7 separate regions of the Homo sapiens genome follow, and all the other regions are linked to region 7. The links are contacts of gene promoters, found by promoter capture Hi-C in blood cells and fetal thymus (Javierre and others, 2016). All regions are on one chromosome and are shown on one strand. The core of a region is centred on a gene start or on the middle of the fragment in contact, and the rest is flanking DNA. Distances in the headings are between cores, read along the strand shown.

The links. Contacts are between HindIII fragments. The CHiCAGO score rates a contact against its expected background, and 5 or more counts as called.
Region 1: a contact is called between a fragment that was not itself captured here and the fragment with the promoter of SUPT3H in region 7, in 4 of 17 cell types (naive CD4 T cells, total CD4 T cells, non-activated CD4 T cells and 1 more). The highest score is 9.8, in naive CD4 T cells.
Region 2: a fragment that was not itself captured here is called in contact with the fragment with the promoter of SUPT3H in region 7 in 1 of 17 cell types (M0 macrophages); the score reaches 5.1 in M0 macrophages.
Region 3: a fragment that was not itself captured here is called in contact with the fragment with the promoter of SUPT3H in region 7 in 3 of 17 cell types (naive CD8 T cells, total CD8 T cells and naive CD4 T cells); the score reaches 5.8 in naive CD8 T cells.
Region 4: a contact is called between a fragment that was not itself captured here and the fragment with the promoter of SUPT3H in region 7, in 1 of 17 cell types (endothelial precursors). The highest score is 5.7, in endothelial precursors.
Region 5: a fragment that was not itself captured here is called in contact with the fragment with the promoter of SUPT3H in region 7 in 2 of 17 cell types (total CD4 T cells and activated CD4 T cells); the score reaches 5.7 in total CD4 T cells.
Region 6: a contact is called between a fragment that was not itself captured here and the fragment with the promoter of SUPT3H in region 7, in 1 of 17 cell types (total B cells). The highest score is 6.2, in total B cells.

What each region holds. Positions count from the first base shown.
Region 1 is chr6:44,979,818-44,982,517 of GRCh38, forward strand. All of the region lies in intron 6 of SUPT3H (SPT3 homolog, SAGA and STAGA complex component), which reads right to left. Among named protein-coding and RNA genes, the nearest start is that of MIR586, 220 kb to the right of the region's middle. The HindIII fragment of the contact is 7,750 bases long and covers 1-2,700 here.
Region 2 is chr6:45,713,126-45,715,984 of GRCh38, forward strand. No RefSeq gene overlaps it. Among named protein-coding and RNA genes, the nearest start is that of RUNX2-AS1, 140 kb to the left of the region's middle. RefSeq lists a silencer at 1,607-1,901. The HindIII fragment of the contact is 6,734 bases long and covers 1-2,859 here.
Region 3 is chr6:44,999,516-45,002,216 of GRCh38, forward strand. All of the region lies in intron 6 of SUPT3H (SPT3 homolog, SAGA and STAGA complex component), which reads right to left. Among named protein-coding and RNA genes, the nearest start is that of MIR586, 200 kb to the right of the region's middle. The HindIII fragment of the contact is 418 bases long and covers 1,147-1,564 here.
Region 4 is chr6:45,086,078-45,089,005 of GRCh38, forward strand. The region is part of intron 3 of SUPT3H (SPT3 homolog, SAGA and STAGA complex component); the gene reads right to left. Among named protein-coding and RNA genes, the nearest start is that of MIR586, 110 kb to the right of the region's middle. The HindIII fragment of the contact is 786 bases long and covers 1,200-1,985 here.
Region 5 is chr6:44,951,088-44,953,787 of GRCh38, forward strand. It overlaps SUPT3H (SPT3 homolog, SAGA and STAGA complex component), which reads right to left. Exons shown (of 11, transcript NM_003599.4): 9 at 2,223-2,330. Among named protein-coding and RNA genes, the nearest start is that of MIR586, 250 kb to the right of the region's middle. The HindIII fragment of the contact is 865 bases long and covers 910-1,774 here.
Region 6 is chr6:45,830,179-45,832,916 of GRCh38, forward strand. No RefSeq gene overlaps it. Among named protein-coding and RNA genes, the nearest start is that of CLIC5, 180 kb to the right of the region's middle. The HindIII fragment of the contact is 207 bases long and covers 1,327-1,533 here.
Region 7 is chr6:45,376,598-45,379,420 of GRCh38, forward strand. SUPT3H (SPT3 homolog, SAGA and STAGA complex component) reads right to left here and starts at 1,337. Exons shown (of 11, transcript NM_003599.4): 1 at 1,171-1,337. All of the region lies in intron 2 of RUNX2 (RUNX family transcription factor 2), which reads left to right. RefSeq lists silencers at 979-1,258, 1,579-1,628 and an enhancer at 1,269-1,812. The HindIII fragment of the contact is 7,128 bases long and covers 1-1,758 here.

The DNA of each region.
Region 1 (2,700 bases), core at 23-2,522, 400 kb before region 7:
AGAACGCAATTACTGTCAAACAGATTGGAATTATTAAGTTCTTTCCATTTACCAAACTGTTAACTAAAACAATTTTTATAGTAGACCAGGTCTACCTTAAGACACTAATTATTTTCTTGAAGTACGTTCTTATCAATCCAGGGGGCTCATTCACGTTTTATTAGTTAAGATTATTTCTGGCTACATATATAAGCCAAAATTATAGTTGCTTAGGCAAGATCAAAGTTTATTTTTCCTCACATAAATGAATTCTGGAGATAGGTATTCAGGCTTTACACAAACACTGACTGAAGTCTCCAGGGCCTCAATCTCCTCCAGTATCTGCTCTGACATTTTGTGATTCAGAATGTCTTGGCTTCTAAAGCTCCAGCCTTGAATCTGCATAAAATAGACAAATGCAGAAAGGGTAGGGAGTGTACCCTTTCTCTAAAAAAAAAAAAAAGAAAAAATGACAGTAAGTCCTCACTTCATCTCATTGATAAGTTCTCGGAAACTGAAAATTTATGTGAAACAACATATAACAAAATCATTTTTTTCTTTGTCCCTCATCAATGTTATAACAAAATGACAGTGAAGGAAAGGAAGTTGAGGGCCTGCTGTACAATGATGTTACGTGAGGGCTTATTGTACTAAGGATTCCCATAGAATGCTTACATTTCATTGGCCACAACTCAGTCGTGTGACCAAACGTGGCTGAGGGTAAGAGAAATGCAGATTTTCTTTCTTTCTTCTTGTTTGGTCTAGATGTTAAAATACCCAGCTACAAATCAGTTTTGTTACAAAGGAAGGAGAACATGGATACTGAGTGGCAAGTAGTTGTGTCTACATGGTGGTATATGACTGAGGTTAAAAATTCATTACATCTATGTGACCCATCATAATCATTTCCAGAACTGATTTTTAGCAGTCATAGGAACCTCTAATAAGTTTAAGAATGAGGATTCTCTTCCTTCACATCACTTACAAACATTTTTTTAAATGCAATTTATGTAGCTTTAAACTTCACTAGAGTACTTTCAGAGGATAAGGAGAAGGCAAAGTTAAGTCAAATAACCATGTCTAATAACTGTCCTAATTCCAAAAAGATTAAGAAGCGCACGTCTGAAGAAGTAGATTTAGTGGCATTTAATCTATTCATACCTTAGAGTTAGCATAACAACTCCTCAAGGAAGGCAAGTGACAGGAAAAGGGGTTTGACAAATGATTCACTCCAATGCCTACTTAAATGCTTTGCCGTTTTGCGTAAATGCCAGCTGGTGGGATGGATCACTGCTACTGACATGTTCTACTCTAACTCTTTACTGGAAGCCCAGCTATAGCTGCTATCCATCTCAAACTTCATCTTAGGGAGAAATACACTACAGGATATGAGGGGTAAAGTGATTCCAAGAACAAGGAACTTGAAAGTAACAGAGAATATTTGCAGAGCTGGGTATAAATAAATGAAGGATGGATTTTAATGAAGAAGTCATATACCTGGAAAATATTGCTTCACTTGTTAACAAAAAGCATGAAATTACATTTTTGTCGTTTTATTTTGATGAGAGAGATATGAATAAAGCAAATGACATTTAAGATATATTTGAAAAGGAATGGACTGGGTACATCATAGGGTAAATACGATTCCAACCCAATCCCAATACATTCTGTATATCAACAGTGCTTAAGTGTTGTAACTCAGTGGCAAATGAGTTTTAATCATAACCCAAATATTTTGAAATATTCTTCTATAATATTGAGAAACATTTTATACCATTAGAAAAAGATTAGCGTGAGTGGTAATAGGAATGTTTACCTGGGAATCAGAAGATCTGGACTCTAGGTCTCAGTTTTACCTCTAACACAAGATGGGACTCTCTAGGTTAAGTTGCTTCATCTCACTGTGACTGAGTTCTCTCTTCTTTAATATAGCTCTGAGATTCTGTGGTTCTACGTGTATTCTCTTATCTCAGGGAACTCCTGAAAGCCTTAGAAACATTTTGGCTGGGCATGGTAGCTCATGCCTGTAATCTCAGCACTTTGGGAGGTGAAACTCCATCTCTACATGACATGAAAAAAAAAAAAAAAAGCAAAACTAGCTAGGGACCATGGTGCGTGCCTGTAGTCCCAGCTACTGGGGAGGCTAAAGTGGGAGGATCGCTTGAGCACAGGAGTTTGACACTGCAGTGAGCAATGATCTCACTATTGTGCTCCAGCCTGGTCAACAGAGTGAGATCCTGTGTCTAAAACAAAGCAAAGCAAAACAAAAGAAAAGAAAAAGAAATTTAAAAAGCAAAGAAATATTTCATAGTTCTAAGATTTAAGAGATAAGACAACCTGGCCAAATCCACACTGAGAAAATTTCAAGCTGTTTGCAATGATTCTTTTTGTTTGTTTGTTTGTTTGTTTGAGACAGTCTCACTCTGTCACCCAGGCTTTTTTTTTGAGATGGAGTCTCGCTCTGTCGCCCAGGCTGGAGTGCTGTGGCACAATATCAGCTCACTGCAAGCTCTGCCTCCTGGGTTCACACCATTTTCCTGCCTCAGCCTCCCGAGTAGCTGGGACTACAAGTGCCCGCCACCACGTCTGGCTAATTTTTTGTATTTTTAGTAGAGACAGTGTTTCACCGTGTTAGCCAGGATGGCCTCCATCTCCTGACCTCAATCTCCTGGCCTCCTGAAGCGCTGGGATTACAGGCGTGAGCCACCATGCCCAGCCCGA
Region 2 (2,859 bases), core at 127-2,626, 340 kb after region 7:
TGCCAGGCATGGTGCTGAGTGCTTGCTTTTTTTTCTGAGATGGAGTCTCGTTCTGTCACCCAGGCTGGAGTGCAGTGGCGCGATCTCGGCTCACTGCAACCTCCGCCTCCCAGGTTCAAGTGATTCTTCCACCTCAGCCTCCCGAGTAGCTGGGATCACAGGCACCCGCCATCATGCCCGGCTAATTTTTGTATTTTTAGTAAAGACGGGGTTTCATAATGTTAGCCAGGCTGGTCTTGAACTCCTGACCTCAGGTAATCTGCCCACCTTGGCCACCCAAAGTGCTGGGATTATAGGGGTGAGCCACCTCACCTGGTCCCTGAGTGCTTTTACATAGATTATCTTATTTATTCCTTGCAATAAGTCTGTAAAAGTAGGTGCCATTACATTTTAGAGATGAGAAAACGGAGGTTCAGTGGTTCTAGGTGACTTGTCTGAGGTTATCTGAGTAGAAGGTGACAGGGTTGGGATTTGAACCAATGTCTGGCCCCAAAGCCTGGATGCGTCCCTTTATACACACAGGCTCTTCTAATGAAAATGGGGCATTTATTTCTGTATATACTGTGGCTACGTTCTCCAAACAGTTCGGAGCTTTAGAAAATATTTTGAGAATTCTCACTCAGATAGACTTTCCGGCAAATACAACTTATTTTGCTTGAGAATTTCCCTGTTTCTTGCACCTTTGTCTATTCAGCTTGGAGAACCAACCTTGGGGAACAAAATCTCCCTCCACCTATCACAGACATTTTCTTTGAGACAGCAGCTGAGCCACCATCCACAGCTTCACCTATCAAGACAGGTGTCTCTGTTTTCCATGAAAGGTGTGACTGCCGGAGATCTCTGTCTTCAGCATTCTCCACCCTTCCCTCCCAGTGCTGCAGAAAGCCTGGCATAGGGTCAGGCTGGTGAGGCTGGATCCAGGCCTACCTTCTTGAACTTTAAGCCGTAAGTGGGACATTTACAAGGGAAAGATCCCTTCTGTGGAATCTCACTGTGAAGTTTCAAGGGCTGCTGCCCCACGCCCACTATGGGCGCTCATAGCCAGGGCTTCTCTGCGTGTCTTACTCTCATCTCTACATCTTTCACTCTCACCGTTATCTCTGAAGAACCAAAGGGAGAAATCACAGGAGTTGGAAATTCCGATGAACCTTTTGCTCTTAGTTGTTGTGCTGAGGCTGGGTGAGTCTCATTTTTAGAAGAAGATGGTGAGAGATTAGTGACCGTGGCTGCTAATCAGCCTTCATCTGAGGAGGAGGACTGCAGAGCCCCATTTTGTCAAAATGAGAGGGAAAATAAGGCAATGAGGCATGTGAAAGGGAAATGTGTTTTTATTTCCTTAAAACCATGCTTTACTGAAAGAGGCACACTGCTTGGGTCTCAGGCGCCCGAGGTGGACTCTGAAAGCTGGCTCTGAGAAGGGAGCGGGAGGGCAGAGAAGGGGAAAACCCATCTGGGACTTTAGCGAATTTTGAGCTATTCAAAAGTTGTTGATCTTGCCAGATTCCAACTTCTGACAGCTGCTAAATATGGCACCTGAGAAAATAGCTTTGATTTTGTAATTTGGAAATGGGAAGGGAAAATTCATTAGGGTTAAATGCACAGAAAGAACACCAGCGGCTTTCCTGTGTCCATCCAGAGGCTTTTAGAGACTTATTGAGTCCTGGTACACAGAGAGTAGATGTGAGGTCCCGCAAGGACGAAAAAGACATTTCCTCCCCTCTGAGCTTGGGCACTAACAATGACAAGCTGAAGGCAAAGGCTGTTAGGAATTCGCCTCTATGCAACATCCCCCTCTACTGGATTCTTGCATGGAAAACAGCACCCTTACAGCCTCTGCTGCCCTAGAAGGTTTTCAGAGCTCTTTCTCTATGTTAACACACACTTTGGAGTCGCCAAGGCAATTTCCCCTCCCTTCTCTATTATTTCCTTGATTAAGATGAAACATTCTGTAAATGCACACACATCCAAGAAAGATAAGACACCAGAGAGAGAGGAATGAAATGATGATGGGGTCAGTGTGGAATTTTAGGACTCCAGAAGATTGGGTTGTTTACCTAGTGTGGGATTGAGGGCCAGAGAGGGGGGCCTTGCTGGAGGCACACAGCTGGTAAAAGGCAACACTTATGCTGGAACCCCACCTCTCCCGACTCCCCTTTAGTGCTCTTTCTCATGTGACAGAGTGACATGTATATTCAGAGTGATTGAACCTTGAACGTGGTTTCTGGTCATGGAAACCACAGGGCTTGTCTAAGGAGAAGGTGATCCTTCTGATTGTTTCTCTTGCAAGATCTCCTTCTCTGACCTGGGTGGACTTACTGCAGTTGCAACTGACCCCAGGGAATGGGGTCAGAAATGGTCTGGCCCCAGGTCATTGGTGATCCATAGACCATAAGTCCAGGCAGGGAGCCTGATACCATGAGAAGCACCTTCATGTCTTCCCCAGTCACAGGGCTGGGGCCTTCCCTATTAGAGTCAAGTGCATCTACAGCAGTCTGCCCAGTAGAAATTTCCACAATGGTGGAAATGAGCCATGTCTGCACTGTCTAATATGTAGCCACCAGCCACATGTGACTTCTGAGTCCTTGAAATGTGGCTAGGGTGACTGAGGAACTGAATTTTGAATTGTATTTAATTGTAATTAATTTAAATTTAAATAGTTACATGTGTCTAGTGGCTACTTGATGGACAGGACAGTTCTAGGAAAGACTTGTTGACATATATACATCACTTGGCCAATGAGACAGTAGTTTTCTTATTAGGTGCTGCTTGATAATTGGCAGGGCTGCGAGCAGAGGACAGAACCTGGGATGTGGCAGAACAGCTTGTACAAGCAGTGCTGGAGCAGGAGGAAAAACACCA
Region 3 (2,701 bases), core at 106-2,605, 380 kb before region 7:
ATGGAGGCTACAGCCCCACCAAACCTCTTCTCTCTTCCCTGAAGAGACCCATGGAATCCTTGGAGTTGTACGATTTTAAGACTATTGCTCATTTATAAAACATTATATATGCATCTATTAGATAAACTTAGATATTTATTAAAGTCTTTTTTTTCCCTTGAATTAATCAGTCAAAGATGGGGATGGTGTGTTCTAGTCTCCACAACAAATGTTTTTCTCTGACCTCTCTCCACATACTAGAAGCTTTCAATGCTCTGGAATTTGATGATTAACAGTTTGCACCTACTATATTTTCACTATAGGTGTATCTTTTAGTAACATAAAATTATTGCCTTTATTCCATTTTAAAGCTTCTCTCCTTAAATTCTCTTTTCTCTGAAATTAATACTGTAACCCCCAGTATTACAGGGTTTGTATGATATACCTCTGATTGTTCTTTAACTTTTACCTTTTAAATAATCTAGAAAAATTACATTTCTATTTCTATATATGTATATATGGGCATAGTGTATACATGTATGTACATGAATTTGCATATGTAAATGTATATACACATATAAATGTATATACACAGATATATACATACATGTATTTATTATGTACATATGTAAACTACATATATCTTTGTAGTATATAATTCTATCTTTATTTCACAGTCCCATATATTATAACATATTTAAGAGTTTCAGTTTTTAACTCAACTTTTTAAACTTTTCTGGTATTTGTGAATGTTTATCTTACTGGGATTAGCCTTTTTCTTTTATGTTAAGTATTATGTAAGATATTTTTGGACTGTTAGCTTTACAGACATTTTATTTTCCTTTTCCTTATAACTGAAATAAATCATGATAGGTAGAAATGGGAATGGTAGAAAGACTTCAAAAACAGGAGATGGACAACTTCTACAGGCATCCACCTATTTCTTCTTCAATGAGTTTTCTAGTCCACTTACCTCCAAAAACCATAACCCTGGGACTCAAAATCTCCAGGCATCATAACCATGCCACACTTGGGCACAACTGAATGATATATCTGATTTCTCTTATTATTCAGTCTTTATGAGAAACTATATGTTTTCAAATCTATGGTCAGTTCATTTCAGGTTAAGCAAATTCAGATGACTACCTGGCACCTTATTTAATTTAAAGCTTATTATCAACAAATTTTAAGCTGCCTTAAATGTTATGTATATCACTCTGCTTTCTCTCTAGATTCCACTATTAAGCCTCTGATATGAAAACACAAGATAAAAAGTCACTAGGGATTTTCTGCACCCCAAACTGTTTAAAAGCTGCTCTCTCTGGTAAGCTCTAATCCTTGCTCTCTTGTTTACTTTTATCAATTTGAGGATTACTCTGAAGGTAGAGTTCTCTCAACTTTTTAAGCACCCATTGTTTACATCTCTTTACAAACTTAGGGGCTTACAAGACTAGATAGTTTACTTGATTATTGACAAACTTGAGCTTCTCAGGTTCCTCTACAAGCAGCAAAGCAGGTTCTTAGGCACAGCTCTTCTGTGGGTGACCACAGTTCCTCACTGACAAGAAAACTCAAAGCTATTTGAAGCTTTCAGTGACTGTATTTTGGTCTTTGGTTGACAATATTTGATTAGATGAAAAAATTAGAATGAAAGAAACATTAGCTACACTTAGACACACCTGCCTTATTTTAGGATGGAGGTGGGTGGGGTTGGAGGGAAGCTATAGTTGTATGTATTTCCCTGCTCTTCTTTCTCAGTCCCTCAAATACACTAAAGCAACTCTGAGCATTATTTAATCTTTATTTGATCATTTAAAAGGATGTTCTGAGATCATGGATCTCTACTATAGGTATGCCCAAGTGCTAGAATCTGGTGCTAGAGAAAAATAAATGTGTAAGAGTTAGCTAACTATCACGATGATGAACTAGTAAGGCAAAATGGATGTAAAAATTCAGATTTTTTTATATTTCAAGTCACATAAACTAATAGTAATGAAGTAAATTATGGATGAAACTAAAGCCAAGCACACATACATCAGCTGAAAACAATAGGAAAGAACTCAGGCTGTTTTTTGTATGTTTGCTCAATGTTTTGAGAAGAAGCTAGAATACCAAGTGAGTTTTTATATCTATAAAGAAGAAAGAAAACTAAAATTAAGCCTGTTGGTAGGTCTATACCATTTTCATACATGCTAGGGGAGAAGGTAGTAAACAAAGTTTCTGCAACCATAAGTGATGCTTGGAGGAAAGTTAAGTCATTGAATGATGCCAGGACTGATTATTCTACTGAACTTTAAAAGCAAGAGATTGCAGTCTCTGAGTCCAAAGTGGTTTCATATGAACTGCCACAGTTGTGGTTAACTCTTGAAACTATAACCTATCAAATTAGAAGCAGGCAAGGCCTATGCTCTTAACAGTTCCACTTTCTACTGTCTACAGTTAAGTTATGTCTACAAGCCCAGCATATTTTTTTCAGTTAAACTGTTATTTGGATGAGTAGAATATAAAAGCTACTCTGTTATGTTGGCCAGAGAAGATTTTTGTTATGATACAAAGCTTAACGAAGTTGCCAGTCTCATGTTTATTTGTACATATGAAGATTTTCACTGTAACTAGTTTTATCAACTTCTGATATTTTATTATCCTGGTTACCAGTATGTAATACATAACTATAAAGAAGAAGTGTACAGACTGCATAAGTACCCAAGCTTTTTCTACCCTG
Region 4 (2,928 bases), core at 343-2,842, 290 kb before region 7:
TTCTGTCACTGACTTTGTAAAGTTAAGCATAAATTAAAGGCTCAATCTTAGCTAAAAATTTTCATCCTATTAGTAATATCATTCCCCATTTTAATGAGAGACACAAAAAATAAAATGAACAAATTTCATTATCTGTATTGGCCAACTATATTTCTGACATACCAAATGCTTACTGCACAAATAAATTTTCTCCGAATTATATATACAGTTTCACCTAGTTGTGTAAAATCGGATATTAATCGACACCTTTAAACCTTATTACTAGGAAATCTGGGGCATTAAAATCATCCTTAGGAACTCATAGGAAATGGTAAACATATAATATCACCAAGTCTCCCTTTTTGAAAATTAGAAATAACTCAATCATGCTCCATTCCTGGTCAACCAAGAATTTTAAATTTATAATGCTTGCATGACTAAATGTGATTTTGTTCTATGACACAGAGACTAAGCATACATAAACTAAATCAGCCACTTAGACACGTAGCTTGAAGTACTTATGTACATAACAAAGCACTGGGATTTTAAGAATCTTGGTTTTAAAAACTCCCTCCAGCAATTCTTCCATCTCTAAAACTCTAGGCTTCTTAGAGTTTTGTTGCATTCAAAATGGCCTCAGCAATTGGTTCATAATGATGTCACAGGAGTAACCAGAAAAACTGTGCATCACTGGTACTGAAAATGAGAGTTATTTATCTGTGAATAGGTACACGGCTAAAATATGTTGAACGTAAATCTATTTCCATAATTATTAATAAATAAAATTTAATATTTAAGATATCAGTAATAGTGAACACTAGGTGTCAGTGTAAGAAACGGAAAAATATTTTTAAAAACCTGTTGTTTCCAATCAGGTGTATAACAATAAAATCAAAAGCAGCTGTGACCACATTTACTTATAATTACATAATTCGGTTAACAAGCCAATCTTTCTTTCAAACAAAAATTTCTGTTCCAAAACCATCAAGAGTTTAAAATCAGATTAAGCTAATTATTAGAAGTTACAAGTCTTTTGTAACCTTGGCTACATAAAGCATAGCAAATTTTTACTTTTAAGAATATATATTTTGAAGAAAATTCTACTTTTAGGAATACATATTTTGAAGTGTTAAAGTGCAGAACTACTATACTGCATTATTTTCGTTGGTTATTTTTCAAAATAATAATGCTGGATGATTAATAAATGATACTGAATTTTAAGCTTTTCCCCAAACAGAAGTTTCCCACATAAATTTCAAGTTATTAAAAGTTAAAATGTTTAAAGGGTCAATTCACAAGGAAAGGGCACACGAACTTAGGAAGTACAATTGCTTCTCTTAAAATTTTAGTACCTAGAATTTTTCTAAAGTATAAATGCTATCATTTATACTAAAAATATCATCTAATAACTTTACCAATATTTCAGATAAAGAGTTTTCTCTATAGACTTTTGAGGGTAAATGCTTTTAAAACACAAGTTTTAAAAAGATTATTATTAGCAATAATAATAAAAGGAAATGTCAACATCAAAACAGTGTCCCTAGTTTTATGAAAAGGCACTTTACAATTTACAAACACATTCATAGTATTACTTAATTTACACCTAATAATAATAATATAAGAAATCTATACTCATTTTAGCACACTGGTCAAGTTTGGGGGCTTGAGCTCTCTGTTTCATCTACCTATTTATCCATTTCTCTGTTTCACCTCCCTCAAACTCCACATTACTATGTACTTATGAAATCATGTATTTTTCAAGAATGTTGGGAAATTTCTTCACACAATATTCTGAAAACCATCAAGTTTGAAAAAGAAACAAAACTAAACATAGAAGTCGCCACTAAAATACAATATCTTAGGACTCGAAGATCATTTAGGAGAATATTCAAGGATTTGCTGGATAAAAATAAGTGCTTTCAGTCAATGCTGTTTCTTATTTCAATGATAGTTAAGTTCTATTCCAATTATAGAGATAAAACGAGAAGGCATAAAATTAATGGAAAAGCTTCCTAAGTCTCCAGGATTGAAATGAATTAAATTTAGATCATTCTGCGTCTGCAGGTTTCTTCTCAGGGACATAAAATCAGACGGGAACTGACAAGAAAGGAACAAGGAAACTCATGTTTAATAAATTATCTAAACTGGGTTTTAAGAATGTTGAGGTATCTAAGAATATTGGCAATAAAAAGTAGAGGTAGGAGAAATAGTGACAAAACTGTATAAGGCATGACATGCTAAAGCAGAAGGGTGGCCTCAGAAATACTGCATGCTATGAATCTTCGAGCGCTCTTTCTGCCTCTTAGTGTCTTTGCCTTTGACACTCTGTTACTCCAAATGTCAAAAAATTTTTTGGCTGCCATTAATCCTGTTCCCATTGGCAAATAATGTAGACCAGTGTTAGGTCATTTACACACATTATCTTATATAATGCCTATGATGTAGGTAAATTCCAAGAGATGACTAAATGAGGACTTGGATTAAGGAATATGCTCAAGACTGTATAACTGGCAAGTTATGAAGCCAAGATTCAAATCCAGCAATGTTTGTCTCCAAAAACATTCCAGTCTACAAGCATTTACCAACTCATGGCTCACGAACCCTGTGGGTTTTGCAAAAGTAATCAGGGATCAGGGGAGTCACATCTAGAACAGTGATTACCAAATGAGAATATACCAAGTTAGTACATATAAATGTACTAACAACTCAGTATTTCTATCAGTTTCTCACTCAGATCAATACTGACAGCTGTCATGGTAGATTTGATTGTTATATGATTTTAAATTCATTTATTCTCTGTGATATGGAATTTAATTTATACCCATACTGAACTATTGTTTACAGGTAGTAAGCATAAGTAGTTGAAGCTAAAACAAAATAATATATAACAATTACACTAACTTTGTAAATTTGATATCTTTCTTTACCAGAATAAGATGTATTCATCTG
Region 5 (2,700 bases), core at 92-2,591, 430 kb before region 7:
AAACAGCGTTGGGTTTTTCTCCTTCTAAAATGGTACTTATGCTGTCTTTGAGTCCTAGAGTATTATCCTAACTTCTACCTTATCATAGTCCTATTTTTCTTTTAACCTTAGCTTTCTCTCTAAAGTCTTTGACTGCAACTAGAGAAGGTTTTTTTTTTTTTTTTTAAACTTCTGTATTTTCTGTCTGAGTCACTCATTTGGAAACCAGTATATGCCATCTTAAACTGTTTGTTCAATTATTTGCTTATTTGTTTTACAAAATATCCTGTCTCCCTGAACAGAGATCACATCAGTCTCCAGAGTCCCACTTTGGACTCAATTTGGTATAGTATTTGATGTACAGGCCCTTGATGTTAGCTGCTGATTTTGTCAAGTGATAAAGGGCAGGAAGGAAGACTTCCAGTCTCTGAATATTCATCTTGACTACCAGTCACAGGAGGGGAGGGGTGTCTGCCAGCCAGAAAAAAGTTTGAGGCTTATACTAACATATTTTGTCAGGAGGCTCTCTGACACTCATGCTCCCACCTCCCAGAGAGCCCAGGAAATCCAGCACATATAGGATATTCCTCTCAACTGCTGGGTAGCTGGGAACAGCGGCTGCGGTTGCTGAGCAGTTGCCTAGGGCAGCTTGGCCACCCTGGAGAACCAAGAAAAGAGGGGAAATAAAGAGTTTTCCTAGGCATGCAAGCAATCACTTGAATGTTAAAAGAAAACTAGGCCCGTTGTGTTCACAGTAAATTTTCTCAATTAGAAATGTTATAACAAATTTGTCTGATGTTAATGGAAAGCATACTTATACACATATTCATAAAGTGAACAAACATCAAAGACATTTTAAAGGGGGTTTTTTGACATCATAATTTGGGTTTGTAACATAAAGAAAACAAATAGTGATTAATCAACTAAGTAAGCTTTAGGGACTTTTGTATGTTGACTGATAATGATGTATGACCTTTTCTAAGAAAAAAATGGATTTTTAATGGGCATAAACATTTTAATCCCTATTTGGTTTCCAAGCCAATTTGATTTTCCAAGGGGCATAAGAAAATGTTGAATTGTCCTTTTGTTTGTAATAAGATGCTATATGGGCATATATGTTAACATATTTTCTATGTATCCTAGAGCAGAGAAATTTAAACCTAGGGTCCATAGGGTTCACAGATCCCTTGGATCCATAGAATGGCTTCAGAATGTCTCTGAACAATCTGAAACTGTAGGCAAAATTTGTGAATGTGTTTATAGAAAAAGGGTTTATAGTTTTCATCAGATTCTCAAAGGGGTGTGTGACCTAAAGAAGATTACAACTACTTCTTAGAAATGATTTGAACCACTATCCTTGCCTATAGATATTTAACAAGGAGTAGAAATGTGTAATCAAGGTATGGCTATAAAACAGAGCTTAGCCATTTTCAGGTTATATATTTCAACCAACTTGATCCAAAACGTACTTCACAACTCTACATGTAGATGCGAACTTAACCTTCTTGCTGTCTTATCTATGGATATTCGATTGAATTACGTGAAACTGCTGTTTTTGTTAGTGAAAAGGGTCGAATATTGGCAAATACATTCAAGACACTGCAATACATTTCTGGTTTTGAGGTAGATGCTGTTTACAGAGGAGATTCTGTATACTAAAAGTGGTGCACAGTTATTATACAGAGCCTTAAAATTGGAAAGAAAACTTTACGGTTCCCATAGCAAAGCCAGATCAGAAAAGAATATAATTTTCACATAGTAGGGGCAATCTAAAAACTCAAGATGAATGAAGACAAGCTTCTTTAAATCATTTTTAGAGATGAATCAATAACTGAAATGGAAAGTTATCAATAAATGCCAGGGATTATTTTGTGAATAATAATGATAACCCTCTTATCTTTTGAAGCACAAAGAAATAAATGACTTTTCCAACATTACCTAAACCAGTTTTTCATCTCCCATAAAAATAAGAAATGCCTTGCAACTATCCCTTTCAATGAAGGGGTAGGAAAGCTAAGTGAAGCAAGAAAAACGTGAAAAAAGTCATTGTCTTAAGTGGACTGTCAGGGCCTGGCACACAGTAGGTGCTCAATTAAATACTTATTTGAATGTCTAATGTATTAAGATTCTTTGACTGAAGGTTATACACTCCTGCATAATCTTTATTAAAGAATCACTAATGTAAATACCAGATATGTGTCAAAATTCACAAATGTTTTAAGACAGATTTTTTTTGTACTTACCTCAGCAGAGTTGTGATACTGAATGAAGGTTGCAGAAATGGCATGGCTGAAGGGGTCCCCTGCCTTGGTTACCATGTCTTGCCTCACAAGAAGAGCCAGATCCACTAACTAGAAGACCAGAAGAATGAAAGTCACATAGCTAGAAATAATCATGAATGCCACTGAAGTGGCAAACCTAAAAGCAATACATTCTGAATGTTACTGATAATCCTGCTTGCCTAAAAATCTATATTGTAGACATGAGCACACACTTTCATTGACTGGTGAATGGACCTAGTCATGATATATTCTGACTTTTTAGGAGAGTAGTTCTCAAAATTTATTTCACAGTCACTAGTGCAAATTTCTGGGCTTTAAGTCCAGAGATTCTAATTCAGTAGGTCTGTTTTAAGCATATAGTCTAGGAATTTGCTTATTTTATTTTATTTTATTAATTTTTGAAATGGAGTTTCGCTCTTGTTGCCCAGGCTGGAGTGCA
Region 6 (2,738 bases), core at 180-2,679, 450 kb after region 7:
AGAGACACCCCTTTTTTTTCCTCAGCACTCCTCCTAACCCTTCTAGGCTTTGCTTTTTGCCAAAGCCCTTAGAAATCCCATATGTTTTGTTTATTCATTTATTTATCTGCTTCTCCCAGTGGAACTCCAGGGAGAGGGAGACTTTCGCTGTTTTGTTTACTACTGCACCCCCGGGGACTAAAACAGTGCCTGGTCCTTAGTGATGATTCATATGTGTTTGAATGAGATATTGAATAAAAGAATGAGTTCTCATTATATATTAGTATTTATGAGTCATGGTAAGTGCTGTGTTCTTGGCTTTACGGATGAAGAAACAGAGTCCCAGAAGATTTTGTGACTTGTCTGAGGTCACGCAGCTTGTGGTAGAGCCAGCTTTAGAACCCAGGGGCTATGACCTGCAGCCTCAGGTCTTTTGGGCAACCACTTCCTGCATTTCCATGCAGCTATTTCCAGGCAGGCACATACCCGGCTCTGACACGGACTCTGGACAGGCTCAATATGCAGATACACAGTCTTTCCCCGAAGTGAGAAGAGGGTACCACACTGCTGCTGTCATTTCCTGGACAGAGAAATGTGCATCTTGCCCGCTGGGTTCAGAGCAATAGTAATTACGAGAGTCTGGAGGGAAGTGAGAAAAGGTATCAGGGGCATTTAACAACCTTCACTGACCTGCAAATTATTATTTACAGTAACACAGAGCATTTCCTCTTCAGAGGCAAAGATGTAGAACATATCATATATGTGTCTTTCTTTTTTTCTTTCTTACTTTTTTTTTTTTTTTTTTTTAAAGAAGACTGACTTCTCACAGTGCTCTCCGGAAGCAGACAGAGAAGAGAAAGGGTTATTGGGCAGGTCAGAACGGACTTACCCTTAGGAGATGAAAGGAATGAATCTTCACTGTACTTTCTTAAATTCCTCCAGGAACTCTATGAAGATGATATTGGAAAACCTGAGAATCTCACTGTAAACTTTTGAGAGGCTGGGTCGGGTTTTATTTAACATGCATCTCCTGTTGATTCGGCACACTGCTTTGCAACAGCAGGTCTGGAGAAGTGTGTTCAGATTGACTGCCTGGGCTGGGAGGGGCTTTGGTTCTCATCTCTTCCAATCTCGTCCCCAGGATGTAGACCATCTGCTCATTCCTAGACTGCAGCTGCCAAACCAAAAACACGTCCACTGACTGGTAGCTCATTACCTATCACAGCAGCCCTTCTTTTTATACTGCTTATGTTGAACTACTGTCTTCTTCCTACAAGCTCCACCCTTCAGGTCTAGTTCTTTCTTCTGGATTGACAGAGGATAAATCTACTATGTTAGTAACAGATAAGCTTTCTTACATGAAATAGAGCAAGTTCTCCTTATCTCACTGGCTCTAAAAAGCAGAACTTGGCACCTAGCAGTCTGTGAAAGCAGGAGTTCCCTGAGAGTCCTCCCACAGTGTGTGTGTGTGTGTGTGTGTGTGTGTGTGTGTGTGTGTTTCTGCGTGGGGAGTGTGTTTCTAATGTGGTGGTGCAGAGTTTGACATTGGAGTCAAGCTTCTTGGGCTCATTTCCAGGCTCTATCACACAGCCCTGTGACTTGGATATGACACTTAGCCTCTCTGTGTCTCAGTTTCTTAAGCTGTAAAATGGGAAGAATAATAGTGACAACCTGATGGGATTGTTGTGATAATTAAATGTGCAAATGCCGTGAAGCATTAGTAGAGTGCCAACCTAGCATATACTGTGTGCCAATGATGCAGTGTCTTTGGGAGGATGTTCTGCTTCTCATGGGTTATAACAAGCAGAAGAAAGCCGTGGATCTGGGGGAATTGTCCCTTGTCCCTGGTGCCTTCTCCTTCAGTGCTTCTCTGTTTTCCTCCCTCTTTCTCCTCCCCTATCTGTTCCCAGGCCGTTCTCCAGTGGTCTAGTCCCAGTATACTGTTCTCTAAGCTGTACAGCTGCTTTTTCTATGCCTGGGGACACTTAGACTTTTTCACAGGGAACCAGGGAGATCCACAATTCTTCCAGGTGCAAAGGAGTGACTCTAAGGGTGACCTCTCAGTGTGGTGAGTGGGAAACAGGTATTCAGGGAACTGAAAGTAAAACCCTTCCCAGTACCCCTCACCCCACAACCACAAACACTCACCTACTTGGACCATTGATTGTGTGTGTCCATGAAGTCACATCTTCCTGCCACATGTTTTAAACTTGACATTTTCTACCTCGCTAAGTTGTGACAAATCCTTTGATATGGCCGAGAATGAATTGCTTTAAATTTAGTCGGAATTCGTGATACATCACATGAAATGAGAAGAAAGACAACCTGATCAACAAATGATATTAATGTTCCAAATTTTGGATGGGTTTAAAACTAAACATAAAGAGAGGAAACTGACAGTTTTTGTTTGTTTGTTTTTTGTTTTGTTTTTTTGAGACAGGGTCTCGCTCTGTTTCCCAGTCTGGAGTGCAGTAGCAAGATCTCTGATTACTGCAGCCTTGATCACCCAGACTCAAACCATCCACCCACTTCAGCCTCCCAAGTAGCTGGGACTACAGGCCTGTGCCACTATGCCCAGCTAATTTTTCTACTTTTAGTAGAGATGGGATTTCTCCAGGTTGTCTAGGCTGGTCTCGAATTCCTGGGCTCAAGCCACCTTGGCTTCTCAACATGCTGGAATTATAGGCATGAGCCACTACGCCTGGCTGAAACTGACATTTTTGAGGGCCTGTTTTGTACCAGGCCCTGTGCTATGTGAT
Region 7 (2,823 bases), core at 87-2,586:
TAGGCATACTTCGCTCCAACGTCCCGAATATCCTGAGATAAGAAACTTTCCATAGCACAATGAAGAGCATTCCATTCTTGCAAAGTACTCTCACGAACTGTTTCTCATAGGCAAATTCAGCCTCTTTGAAACATTCACCAGAAATTCCCCAAGTTTTGTCCTTCAAGTAAATCTTTGCAGGGCGAATTTAATTCCTCTTCCAGAGTCTGCCCTTCACATATACTAAGACCCCAGGTCCTCTCCTTCCAAATACATACATACATATATACACATACATATACTTATATACACACATATGTATATACATATATATACACACACATTTCTTTCTACCGAAATAACTTAACATTTCTATTAGCCTCTTGGAGAAATGCTAATTTATCCACGTGTACAGTAATACTACGTCCAGGATCGTCTGAGTGTCAAATATTACATATCACTGTCTTCATAACTTCACTCTCACGTGTGAGACCAAGTGTCCTGATTCTCTGAGAAAATAAGGTCACAGTCATTCTGAACTCCTAAAACGTGGAGAGCAAAAGCAGAGCTAATATGTACTGAGCAGCACCTGGCGCTGTTCTAAGCGTTTAACGTGTATTTTCTCATATAATCCTCACAATTCTGAAATAGGCTATAAGATCGCCATTTTACAGACCAAAACAAGGCAAAGACAAGCTAAATAATTTCCCCAGGGGTCACAGACGTGAGCTCACCCCACAGAGAACACAGCGGATCTTTTCCTCTTTCTGGATGCTACACTCCCACTAACTACCTAACTCTTCTCTCGCCGTGCCATAAAGCAACAATTTCCCTCTTTAATGATTCCTCCGGCAGCCCCCACACTACCTAGACGACCCGCGCACCCCGCTTCTCAGCACAGCCCAGCCCCCCTCACCCCACGCCCACCCGCCAAAAGGGAGGAGTCGAGAGGCAACTCCACGCTCGGCAGCGGAACCAGGGCGCTGCGCCCGGCCAGCGCCTCCCACAGCCGCCCTCCCTTCAACACTCCGGCGTAGACCACGAAGACCCAGGCAGCCGCCCTCGAGCCGGGGCCAGGGCGTGGCCGGCGCGGGGGCCCAGCGACGCTGGGATCTCCGCTCTGCGTCCCTCCCGGCTCTCTGACGTCTCCCCCGCCCGAATCCCCGCACCGCCCCCCGCAAGCCCTACAACCTCTGCTTTAAGAACCCTTGGAGGCACTGCTGCGCTTCCCGCGAGGAGAATGTGGGGGTGGAGATGGTGCGGTTTCTGCTGCTGCGGCCCGGGACACGCTTGGAAAGGGGCGGGGTGGGGGACTGAGAGTGTGGAGTGTAGAAAGGGAAAAGGTGACTCGGCTGTGTGACGGGGCGATGGGGGGGGTACAAGATGGCGTGAGCCCGACTCTCGGTGGGGCGGGGGTTGCGGAGACTGAGGAGTAAGCGATACGGACGCCCCCCGCACTGGCAGTGCGGGCGCATGCGCGCTTGGCCAGGTGGCGCGCGCTCTCCCAGCCCGAGCGAGCTACTTCCGCCACGCTCGCCGGGGGCGGGGCGTTGTGCGCGGCCTTCAGGGCCCGGCTTGGGCAGCGCTGAGCCACGCGGCGGCGTTTAGAGCTGGGGACGCTGGGAGCGGAGTGGGGACGAGCTGAGATCGGTCAGGGTGTACAGGGTGCAGGCTTGAATTCTTTAGGAATTGGGCCCGAGAGGGCTAGGATTTTTGAAGGATTGGGTGACCGGCACTGGAAGTTGATTTTCAACTCCGAGGAAGAGATTCACCGTTCTAAGCTTCTTTCCAGGAATTGGAGTGAACGGGATCTTAATGGGATTGCGCGTTTACAATGGTGAAGGGAAACGGAGGGGTCTGAACGCTCCCCGCAGGGCCGCAGTACAGGCGTGTGGATGTGGAACCCTTTCTGGGACGGCGAAACCAGCTCTTACGCCGCTTCCGCGCGCCATCACTCCCTACCCTGACCTCGCACAGAATCTGTTTCATTAATCTGCTATTAATGTTTTTTCCCCAACTCATGTTACTAGACGCAGGCGTTTAACTACCATGTTTTGTTATTGAAAACTTTTTCTACTTGAAGGCTTTTTTTTTTTTTTGGACGATTCTGTGTTTAGATTTTGGCCTGTTCCTCATTTTAAAATCTTGCACCCCCAGTATTGTACTGTACATTCTGTCCTGCCACATTTAATTGATATAGATGTAGTTCTTTAAATAATACAGTAGTCGTAAGACAATGCTTTCAGTCTTTCACTCTTTATATTATATGAAGTCTTATTTATATTTAACATTCTTATTGCCTGCTTAGAGAAGAAAACTGGTTATCCATGCTCACCTTCACACCTGTGTTGTCAAATACTATAAAATACTGTATTTTATAGGGATTCAAGTATTAACCCTCACCAAGTCTTTTTAAGCATCACTGCTTCAGTTATTTTCTTGCCTATAGATACTGTGAGTTCTGAAATCCCTTCCTTCTATTTGCTTAAATTGTTTAAAATAGCAACTTATTTGGTTATTTCCTCTGTGGATTGTAGTTGAGTCTGCTAGTGTTGTGTTTGATTCTCTTTAATCTCCCCAACGCTTCAATATTTGCCAAATACCTAAAATTCCAAAAGAATAGATATATTTAGGATGTGAGAGCTCAGCTTGATGTGTAAATCAGGGATCAATTCATTGCTGAGCAAAGTGTGCAGTATAAGGGAAAGTAACAGAGTGAGTATGGTGATAACTTCTTACATGGGAAGACTGGTTGAAAGCTCTTTTGAGTACATTACCAAGAAATTAGTTAACAGAAGATTAAGAGAAAAATTAATGTTCACATCTAAAGAAACATAAAAGTAG